2 separate regions of the Homo sapiens genome follow, and region 1 is linked to region 2. The links are contacts of gene promoters, found by promoter capture Hi-C in human tissues and cell types (Jung and others, 2019). All regions are on one chromosome and are shown on one strand. Each heading gives the region's core, a stretch centred on a gene start or on the middle of the fragment in contact. The rest is flanking DNA. Distances are from core to core; before and after follow the strand shown.

Evidence for each region. The method cuts DNA at HindIII sites, captures the fragments that hold promoters and counts their contacts. A contact is called where the count stands out against the background at its distance.
Region 1: a fragment that was not itself captured here is called in contact with the fragment with the promoter of SORL1 in region 2 in 1 of the 25 tissues and cell types used here (IMR-90 fibroblasts).

What each region holds. Positions count from the first base shown.
Region 1 is chr11:120,924,264-120,929,498 of GRCh38, reverse strand. All of the region lies in intron 13 of GRIK4 (glutamate ionotropic receptor kainate type subunit 4), which reads right to left. Among named protein-coding and RNA genes, the nearest start is that of TBCEL, 97 kb to the left of the region's middle. RefSeq lists a silencer at 3,270-3,369. The HindIII fragment of the contact is 4,235 bases long and covers 455-4,689 here.
Region 2 is chr11:121,448,943-121,454,000 of GRCh38, reverse strand. It overlaps SORL1 (sortilin related receptor 1), which reads right to left and starts at 1,687. Exons shown (of 48, transcript NM_003105.6): 1 at 1,385-1,687. The coding sequence starts at 1,669. SORL1-AS1 (SORL1 antisense RNA 1) reads left to right here and starts at 1,034. Exons shown (of 3, transcript NR_183636.1): 1 at 1,034-1,326; 2 at 4,102-4,305. RefSeq lists enhancers at 851-900, 921-990, 1,031-1,080, 1,091-1,280, 2,671-2,730 and silencers at 1,571-1,620, 1,751-1,800. The HindIII fragment of the contact is 11,875 bases long and covers 1-5,058 here.

The DNA of each region.
Region 1 (5,235 bases), core at 1,323-3,822, 530 kb after region 2:
GTCTTTTGATCAGTTTACCTGCGGGCGGCTTTCTCCCTCCCACCCGCACCTATTGAGATGCCCAGGGAACTTGCCAGGACTCACTGGGGTCACCGAGCTGCAGGGCAATGGGATCAGAAGGAGCCAGGGAGGCTCACTCCCACTCCTGGCCCACACGAGCATCCGCAGGGCTCATCCCTTAGACTTCAGCGTCACATGCCTGAGAACACACACATCTGCTCTCCTGCCACATGAGTCAGGCTGTCTGCCCACGCCACCCGCCGCGGGCTGGAGACAAAGAGAAACTCTTAGGGGTCACATGGCACCTGCAAAATATTTGGTGTCCTTGTCCACTGGGGAGACTGGATGCCAACCCCACCACCTCTCCCTTCTTTCAGAACCAGGATATAGGAACAAAGATCAGGGAATAAAGGAACAGTAAATAGCACCCAATTGTTCACCTGTGCCAACACACAGACACACACACACACACACATGTGCGCACACACACATACACGCGTGCACGCGCGCACACACACACACACACACACACACACACGTCTTTGCTAACCAGTGCGAGCCCATGTTTGTAGAAATCATCCCTGCTCACTGGGCCAGGCCTATCCACAGCAATGATTGAAGAGGCAGAGGCCCAGTGGAGCATTAGCATTCCTGGGAAAGTGGCAATGTCATCCGCAGGTCCAAGTGCTCCCTGGTGCTATTTCTCGAGGTTACAGCTTACTCTCGGGGCTGGATGAATTTCTTTAGAGTTAAATTAAAGTCCCCATGAAATATTTAGTTGGCTCGGCACAGGGCTGTGTTATTGGCCTATAGAGGGCAGATTTTAGGAACGAACCAGCGCTAAGGAAAGAAGGGGCTGGCAGTTCATTTGCAGGTGAAATTATGCGGCACAGAGGTCCAAGCTGACTCAAGAGGCCAAGCAGATACTATTTACCCTTGACCCTCTTGTTACAGGCTTCTATTCACTGGCCCACGAATCCTCAATCCTCTTGCTTTTTGGGGTCAGGCAGATGCATGTTTGAATCCCGACTCTGCCATTCACCAGCTGAGCAATTACCAGAAATCTGAGCTTCAGTTTCCTCATCTCTAAAATAGGCAAAATAATGTATACTTCTTAAGATTGTGGTGAGGGTTAAATTCAACTCCCTGTGTAAACAGAGCTCATGTGAGGTCCTGCTTCTTACAATCCCCTCTTCCCGTTGCAGCCAGAGGGGTCTTTGGGAAAGCTAAAGCAGACGATGCCATTTTTCTCCGTGTCGCCTTCTAGCTTTTTTTTTTTTTTTTTAAGACGGAGTCTTGCTCTGTCTCCCAGGCTGGAGTGCAGTGGTGCGATCTCGGCTCACTGCAGCTCCACCTCCCAGGTTCCAGCCATTCTCCTGCCTCAGCCTCCCGAGTAGCTGGGATTACAGTTGTGCACCACCATGCCCGGCTAATTTTTGTATGTTTAGTAGAAACACGGTTTCACCACGTTGGCCAGGCTGGTCTCTCACACTCCTGATCTCAGGTGATCCGCCTGCCTCGGCCTCCCAAAGTGCTAGGATTACAGGCATGAGCCACCATGCCTGGCCTGCCTTCTTAATATTTTTTTATGCCATGGACCTCTTTAACAGTCTGCTGATACCTGTTAACCTCTTATTTTAAAATATTTTAAAATGACTACATAGAAATTCAGTTATCAAAATATGTGTACACTTTTTGTGCTATAGTGGTATCTGTGCCTCTTTACATAACAAGAGCTGGAAGTGTGTCTAACAGCAACACTAAATTAATACCATTGGTGACAAAGTCACAGGTGTGGTTAATACCATGAAGCTTTGTTGACCACATTCATAATTGAAGGAAATATTACATTTCTGTTTGAACTTAGAAAAATATATAGATGTTAATTTTTCCTTTCTTTCTTTCTTTCTTTTTTTTTTTTTTTTTTTTTTTTGAGACAGAGTCTCACTTTGTCACCTAGGCTGGAGGGCAGTGATGTGATGTGGTTCACTGCAACCTCCGCCTCTCAGGTTCAAGCAGTTCTCCTGCCTCAGCCTCCTGAGTACCTGGGACTACAGGCACGCACCACCACACCCAGCTAATTTCTGTATTTTTAGTAGAGATGGGGTTTTGCCATGTTGGCGAGGCTGGTCTCGAACTTCTGACCTCAAGTGATCAGCCTGCCTTGGCCTCCCAAAGTGCTGGGATTACAGGTGTAAGCCACTGTGCCCGGCCAATTCTTCCTTTCTAGTTTTGTGGACTCTCAATGCTATCCTCAGACCATGGGTGTATGTGGACCTAGGAAAAGAACCGAGAGACTTCCAAGTTCATAAAGACCCAACTCCTTACCGTGGCCCACCAGGCGTTGGTGATACGGCAGCCCATTCACCACAGTCTAGCTAGTCATGCTAACCCCCATCCTGATTTCTGAACATGACAAGTTCACTTTCCACCTTGGGGTCTTGGAGTTTACTCTTTCCCCTCCACATATGCTCTGCCCTGGCCATGGCCCAGCTGGCTTCTCACCGTTCTGACCTCAGCTCAAGCACCATGCCATCAATGCAGCCTTCCCTACTTGCCCACTTAATGGGCCCCTCTCCTCGAGACACTCTGGCTCATTATACTGCTTTATTTTCTTCACAGCGGAAATCATGACCTGAAATTGTCTTGTTTATTTACCAGTTTACCTGTTGATTGTCTAGAGTGCCATCTTCAGGAAGGAGTGACCTTTGTCTGCCTTAGTCATCATACATCTCCAGTGTCCAGAACCTGCCATGTGCCAGGCACTACATAAATATTTGTTGAATGAAGTCATGATTGAATGAATGAATAGACAAATCCAAGAAAGAGGAGCTCAGTTAACATTATTCTCTATCCTTGGCTCTCAACTGAGGGAACGATTTTGTAGTAGAATGTTTTGACCAAGGGTACACCCTCTAGGGCCAGCTCAGCCACTTACTAACTGCATAATCTTAGGCCAGTTACTTAACCTCTTTGTACCTCAGTTTCCTCATCTGGAAAATGGGGTTAGTAATATTACATACTTTGTAGGTATGTTGGGGAGGTTAAATTAATGAATACACAAAAAGCACTTAGAACAGTGCCTGAAACATAGGGAATGTTCCAGAAGTGTCAGCCTTTATTATTTTGTTGCAACTTAAAGGATTCACTTCAATTTTATTTATTTTTTAAAATTATTGTTTCAGAAAATTCAATGTAGGTATTGAAGGGAGTGAAAAGAAATCCCATGATTAAAAAACTAATATGCATTATAGATGTCAGTGTTTATATAGTTGAGGTGTGAAAGAGAAAGGGAACTGAGAGCTTAGGTCCAGGCAGGTTATGGTATGTGGCAAAGCCCAGAGAGGCCTAAGTTTCACTTCCTCACATCACTACTACCACCACCATCACACCTGACTTTCTGAAGATTGACCAACAATTTACATGTCGAATCAAGAAAAGAAATTGAATCCTATCTGAGTTTTCAGGAAGATATGCTCATTTCTTTTCTTTCTTTTTCTTTTTTTTCTTTCTTTTTTTTTTTTTGAGATGGAGTCTCGCTCTGATGCCCAGGCTGGAGCACAGTGGTGCGATCTTGGCTCACTGAAACCTCCACCTCCTGGGGTCAAGCAAATCCCCTGCCTCAGCCTCCTGAGTAGCTGGGATTACAGGCGCACACCACCACACCTGGCTAATTTTTTTTGTATTTTTAGTAGAGATGGGGTTTCACCATGTTGGCCAGACTGGTCGTGAACTCCCGACCTCAGGTGATCACCCGCCTCAGTCTCCCAAAGTACTGGGATTACAGGCGTGAGCCACTGCGCCTGGCCGATATGCTCATTTCTAACCCAAATGCACCCTTTATTGATAAAAATCTCTGGCCCACAATACAGTCACCAATAGGCCATGGGACAAGGGGCACTGAATTTTCACCAGTGAGTCCACCCTCTTCTGCCTGTCTCCCATCCCTGCTGGCTGCCAAAACAGCTGGTTAAGCTCTGGGTCGCTGACAACGGGCAAAGCTAACTGGTCCACATGGGGATCCAACCTGCAGACCTGAACTAATGAGCAAGGGCTTGTGCTGGCCTAGCCAGCCCTACACTTATTTCGAGGCTATGGGTTCCAGGCGTGATCGGGGGCCTGTGTAAAGCTGGCCTGGGCAAGCCCAGGCGACAGGTTTCTGCTGTTGTAGGAGCCCGACAGTGCCACCAGCTCACGGCGCTGTCTTCCTTTCATTTTCCCTCCCACTTGTCAGCCCTGTAATTAGGAATGGTGAGATTCACGGGCCTGTTATTAGGACTGTTTTTGTTGGGTAAAATAAAGTACCACCAACTTCTGTGGGCATCGCCCACAGCCATAGAGAACTTCTAGAGGCCTTCCCTGTGCTCCTTCTCTGTTCCCACTTTTTCACCCCATCCCCTACAGCTCCTGCTAGACAGAATGGAGGCCCCAGCTCTGCCTCAGAGACCAGCCCTGAACTGCCCCACCTCCCCAGGGAGTGAGCAGTGATGTGACCAATTGGATCCACAAAGTGGACAGCATCTGGCCCCTTCTCATTTCCTATCAGTATGTGCACACGTTGAAACCACTGCAAAGGGCAGCAGGGCATTTTCTCAGGAATCCCTGCCATTTTTTGAGGAAGAGAGCTGAAGACATTGTTCTGAACCTCTGGCCACTCTTCCTGGGTGATAAAGGTGTATTTGGTCTTTTTCTGAGAGGTGTCCCACTTGTTGACATGGCTCATATGCCCATCAATAGTCATACCCCAAAACTGTTTTTTCACAGATCGTTCTTGAGACCCACAGCAACGTCTAAGGTTGGCAGTAACCTATTTAGAGATGAGGAGAATGAGACTCAAGAAGTCATGTGGTGTTAAATTTGGAATAATGGTTACCTTTGGGCAGACGAAAGGTGTAGAGAGTGAAACAGGAAAGAGGTGGGTGGGGACAAGGGGGTCTTCAGGATGCCGCTAAGGGTATATTTCTTGATCCGGACAGTGATTGATCACACAGGGATGTCCTCTTTGTGATCATTCATTAAGCTGTCACTTACGATTTGTGCACTTTTCTATATGTCTATTTCAATATATATTTTTTTAAGTTAAGTGATTTTCCCAAGTAGGAGAATGGCCACTGTTGAGCCTGCCACTAAACGCTCTGCTGACTCTGTGGTGAGGAGCCTGGAAGGGGAGCCAGGGCTGCTGCCACGGTACCGACTGCTACAGCGGTGACCTCACACACGCAAGGGAGCCACACT
Region 2 (5,058 bases), core at 438-2,937:
CATTCTTGCCCAGGGACCAATAGTGGAGGGAAATCCAACGCTCCCACCCAGTCACCACCATCCTTTCCCCCTTTATACCAGATCTATTTTATTTTAGAAAGGAGGTATTTCAGCAGCATTGCATAAAGACAGGGTGACTGCAGTCAAGCAAAGGTCACTGAGACAATGCAGACAAAAACTAGAGAGCAGGCCACCTTCCCGGTATGACCTTGGACTAGTCACTTCACCATTCCACGCTTCAGTTTCTTCACCAACAAAATGACACAATAGGGTGATATGTTTACAAGGTTCGTCCTGGATCCAAGGGTTGAACATTTAACTCTGTATTTCCTGAAGAAATGGCTAAAGTGAAATTAGTGAGAAAAGGCAGAACTCAGGGTAATCTTTTATTAATAATTTCTACTTCAAAAGGAACAATTTGACTCTAGAAAACAAGTGTATTTACCCCCTCCTCTGGTCCTACTTTTTCTCCCCCACCGACCTTATACTTTTGCTGATGTCAATCTTAACTGCAGGACTGGGAGTCTCATGAGGCAATAACACGGTCAAATTAATTTTGCCAGTGCTGATCCTAACCTACAAACTCCATCTGCAATTCCTCGCAGTAAGTCTGACCATAAAAGTGAAATTCACGTTACTTATGATCTAATAAACCTATTGCCTGGGTAGAAATAAATCACTTATAGAATAATAATGCCCACCAAATTTCCTGCAGTCCTTTCAAATCTCCAAGTGCCATGAGGGGTATTCCTCTCCAAAATAAAGTTATCTTGACGGGGGTGGGAGAGTCAGCATCTTGAAGGGTGGGGAAGAAGGAATGGAGAGCATCTCACACGCTCGCCAAAAATTAAAAATTAAAAATTCAGCCTTTACACACGCACACACATACACACACCTCTTGTCTGACTGTACAGAGATAGTCGACAAGCTTTCAGGTTTGCCCACTTTTATTGTGCTAATAATGCTAAGTGTGGAAACCCCCACCTCGTGCTGTTCTGTGTAAGTGTACCGCAACTGCAGGGTGCTCGCCTCCACTGCCAACTGATGATACACTAAAGAAAGCCCGTTTTTTATCCAGATGTAAAATGAAGCTGCACCCCTCCTATACCTGCCGGAAACTACATCTCTCTGCACACACCCTGGGGTAATACGCACTGCACCCGGCGAGTTACCTGGAATACGTTTACTAAATCGACAGGAAGAAGGAAAGATCAATGCGATTCAAGTGCTGACGGTTGTACTCGTGAAGGAAAAAAACAAATGCAAGCCGGGAAGTCCCCAGTGGTGCCTGCACCTAGGAGGCGACTGCAACGGATGGATGCGGGGGTGAGGAAGTGCAGGGAGAGGAAAAAACTGGAGGGAGGCGGGTTGCAAAACTGCTCACCTGTCCGTACACCTTGATGGGCTCGGGCTGCAGGGCAGCGCTCCGTTTCCTCCGGAGCGGCTTCTCGTCCGCGCGGCTCGCCCCCCTGGCATCCCCGCGCGCCCACAGCCGCAGCTCGCGCGGGTCGCCCTGCACCACGAGGAAGCCCCGGTCCTGGGGCAAGGGCGCGCTGCCGCCGTGCAGCCTCTGCGTCCAGACTTCGCAGAGAGCTCCGGGCGGCAGCAGTGCGACCAGGGTGAATAGGAACGGGAGTCGCGACTCCCTCCTGCTGCTCCGTGTCGCCATGTTCGGGCGAACGCTACTGCAGGTGGCGCCGCCGCCAGGAGAGAATGTGCAGCGCGAGGCCAGGAGAGCCGCTGGGCCGGGACCGCGCGCGCCGCTCCCGGGGCTCCAGGCCGCCCGCGCCGCTCCGGGCCGCCCCGCTGCGCCCGCCGCCGCTGCCGCCAGGTCCCGCTCGGTTCGGCGCGGCGCCGTCACGTGTGAGGCTCGCAGCGCGTCCCTTTCGCGCACTTTCTGCGCTCGGCGGCCTCGGCGGCGACTCCGGCCCCTCCCTGGCGCGGGGATGGGGAAGTTAAGGCAGCGAGCGCCGGTGGGGGTGCGTCCCTTCCCTGGCGGGCACACCTCCTTGTTCTCCCTGCAGGAATGAAGAGTTGCATGGGGCTCGCTCGTTTTCTCTGGAGTTAGTTGCGTCCTATACAGGGTCGTGTCGAGGTCGTCCTAAACCGTGGCCACTTTCCTGAGTGCACAGCCCGCAGTAGCGCCACAAGACCACCTCCCCCCGGCCCCGGCCTCATCCCCACCTCCAGGGAAGAGTCCAGAGCCACAGAATTAGCTCCTAGAACGCAACCAACAAGAGTCCAGATGAACCCGCTCTATTGGGAAACTCACAGTTTTTCATCTACTCTGGGCACCACAACGTATTTGCAGGGGCCACAGCAAAAACTACCCTTGATCAAGCTACGTGCCCCAGCCTGAAGCACAGCAAATAAACATCCTGCACAGAGGCAGTAAAAACAAGGGTACATCTGACAAAGAATGCACCACACCTGGACAATTATTACACAGCTATACAGGGTGTGCTTGCACGCACGCATGAATACCTGTGCGTGGCACAGGGCCCCAGCGGCGGCTTGCTTATGATCCCTCCAAGGTGACCAAGCACTGAGCCACCCTGCCTCAGCAGTAAAATAGACATATTTACCAGTCCCTTCAACCCACAGCCAGGAGCTAGGCAAACACCCACAGAGGAGGGAGGACACACTTTAACCCTACATTCAGCTTGACGAGCCAAACTCTCTGAACCACAGGAGATAAAACTTCTGCCATGGAACTGCTAAGGTACGCCCAAGGAAAATATTTTTTTTGCAGGTTAGTGGGAGCAGCCAAAGTCTATGTACTACTGCAACCTTTCCTATTTCATTTTATGTTTCACTGCCCTCTGAACTCAGATCCTGGTTTTTGATAAGAATAAAGACACAGCAAGCAGGGCTGAAAGGGAGACTACCTTTATAGTTGCATACAAGCTGCTGTTCAGGGGAAGGAAGGGATGGTCAGTTCAATTTTCTAAAAACATTCCTCATCTCCGACAAGCCACGGTAGCCCGATTCCTACCCCGGCCCACTCTAGTACTTTTCAGGTAGCTTAGCAAAGCCCCCTCCTCTACCTAGGACTACCACTGACAACCTGCCAGAGTCAGGCCAGCTTGCCTCATCTCCCTGAAGCCAGTATTCAACCACCCTACCCTACCCCATGCCAGACTTGCTGGGGACCTCTGCCTCAGGTTCTGCACTCTCCCACCTCCTCCCACACCCGATTTTCTCCCCAAGTCAGATGATGTCTTTCTGTCCATCTCAACATAATTACAGAACCATCCAGTTCTCCCCACCAAGCAAATCATGCATTCTCTATGTTAACCACCCTGCTTTGTTCATTATACATTGTATACAGGTATCAAAATACCACACTTTCCCCAGTGTGGTATTATTGGGGTGCCTTCATCCTGCACCCCAACTTTGATGTTATTTCAGAGGGATTGAGGAAGTGGTAGCTTGTTTACAACCCAGAGCTGGTTTTGAAGCTGAGAGGAACGCCTTGCTCATATTGTGCAATTCAGCTCTAACTCATATATATAACATATATATTTATTATATACTTATATATGTCAATTAAAAATAATAATTCAAACAATCATGCATCCTCCAAGAAAGCCACTGAACCACTGTCACCTCCCACCCCTCATCTAGATCAGCTCTGTCTGGTCAGCATCACCTTACCAGGAATGGACAACCCCATGGTCTCTCAGGACCAGCAGCAAAGATATCTCTACTCCCATTTAGCCCTCAAAGGAAAATGAAGGGAATATGGCTAAAGTGAGAACATCCTGTAGATGATTCAATTATTGGGGTTTTTCCAACATATATTTAATGAGAACCTTCTCTGCAAGAGCAAGTGTCAGAGTCCCAGCAGAAAACAGAGACAGGAGTCTCCTAAGTGTGGATTTGAAGATGGGCATCTGTTTGCCCACACAAACTGCTGGCTTAAGGTTCAGATGGCCCCTTGCACAGAAGGACTAGTAGGGCAGGGCCAGCTACTTGCTCATTTTGATGTTGATTTGCAACTTGAATGCTAGAGAATTGGTAAGAATATTCAAACATGGTTAATTAACTCCTTGCAAGCCCTCCTATCTAATCATTATCTACATTCCAAACCATTCTCAGGTAGATAATCAGCAACCCCCCAAGACTGTGCCTGCTGCACAACTACAGAACGCAGTGGAAGACACGCTGAATTCTGAGTCAGAAGGTTGACTTTCTAGCTGTGGGGACTTGGCCAAACCTCCTCAGAGCTTCAGTTTTCTCATCTGTAAAATAGAGATCTTAATCCCTACCAATCTCACAGGACTGCTGAGAGTATCAGATGAGGTAAGTATATAAAATAGCTGTGCAAATTTGTGTGAAGGCCTCCAGAGAGAAATAGTGCATGCAGGTGGCATTAGAAACATAGATTCTAGTCCTGGCTTTGCAACCAAATTATTATGTAATTTTTTGTCTTGATCATCTTGTCTCTTACGATTTCTTCATAAGTTAAATGAAAAGACACCTTTCAGCCCTGACCACTCCCAAACCTTCAGGACCCCCACTGGGTTGTGAGATAGGAGCAGCCACAGGCAAGGTCACCCAGGACAGGAGTTAGAGCTGAATCGTGCAATATGAGTGAGGTGTTCCTCTCAGCTTCAAAACCAGCTCTGGGTTGTAAACAAGCTACCACTTCCTCTATCCCTCTGAAGTAACATCAAAGTTGGGGTGCAGGATGGAAGACAGTACCATATCCCCCTCTGTCCCATCTTGCATGGCCTTGCTCGGATGCTGCCCAGCATCATGACGAAAATCAACATGCACGGAAATGTAATGATAGACTCACAGCTGTGTATAAAACAGTCTTAAGCCTGTTGTCAGACTTTAAACTGCCCTCCTCTGTCCTACTGCCCATCTTAGGCCACTGGAGATGGAGGTAGAGGACAAACACACAGAGGTCACAGTGTCCTACATTTTTATCCAGGTGGAGTCATGTTTAAAATAGCAGCAAGGACAGCCACGAAGAGGAAAAAACTCCCCAAAGCCTAATTTGACTTCTTTCTGTTCTTTCTCTTCCTGTGGCCTTCTCACATGCTCACC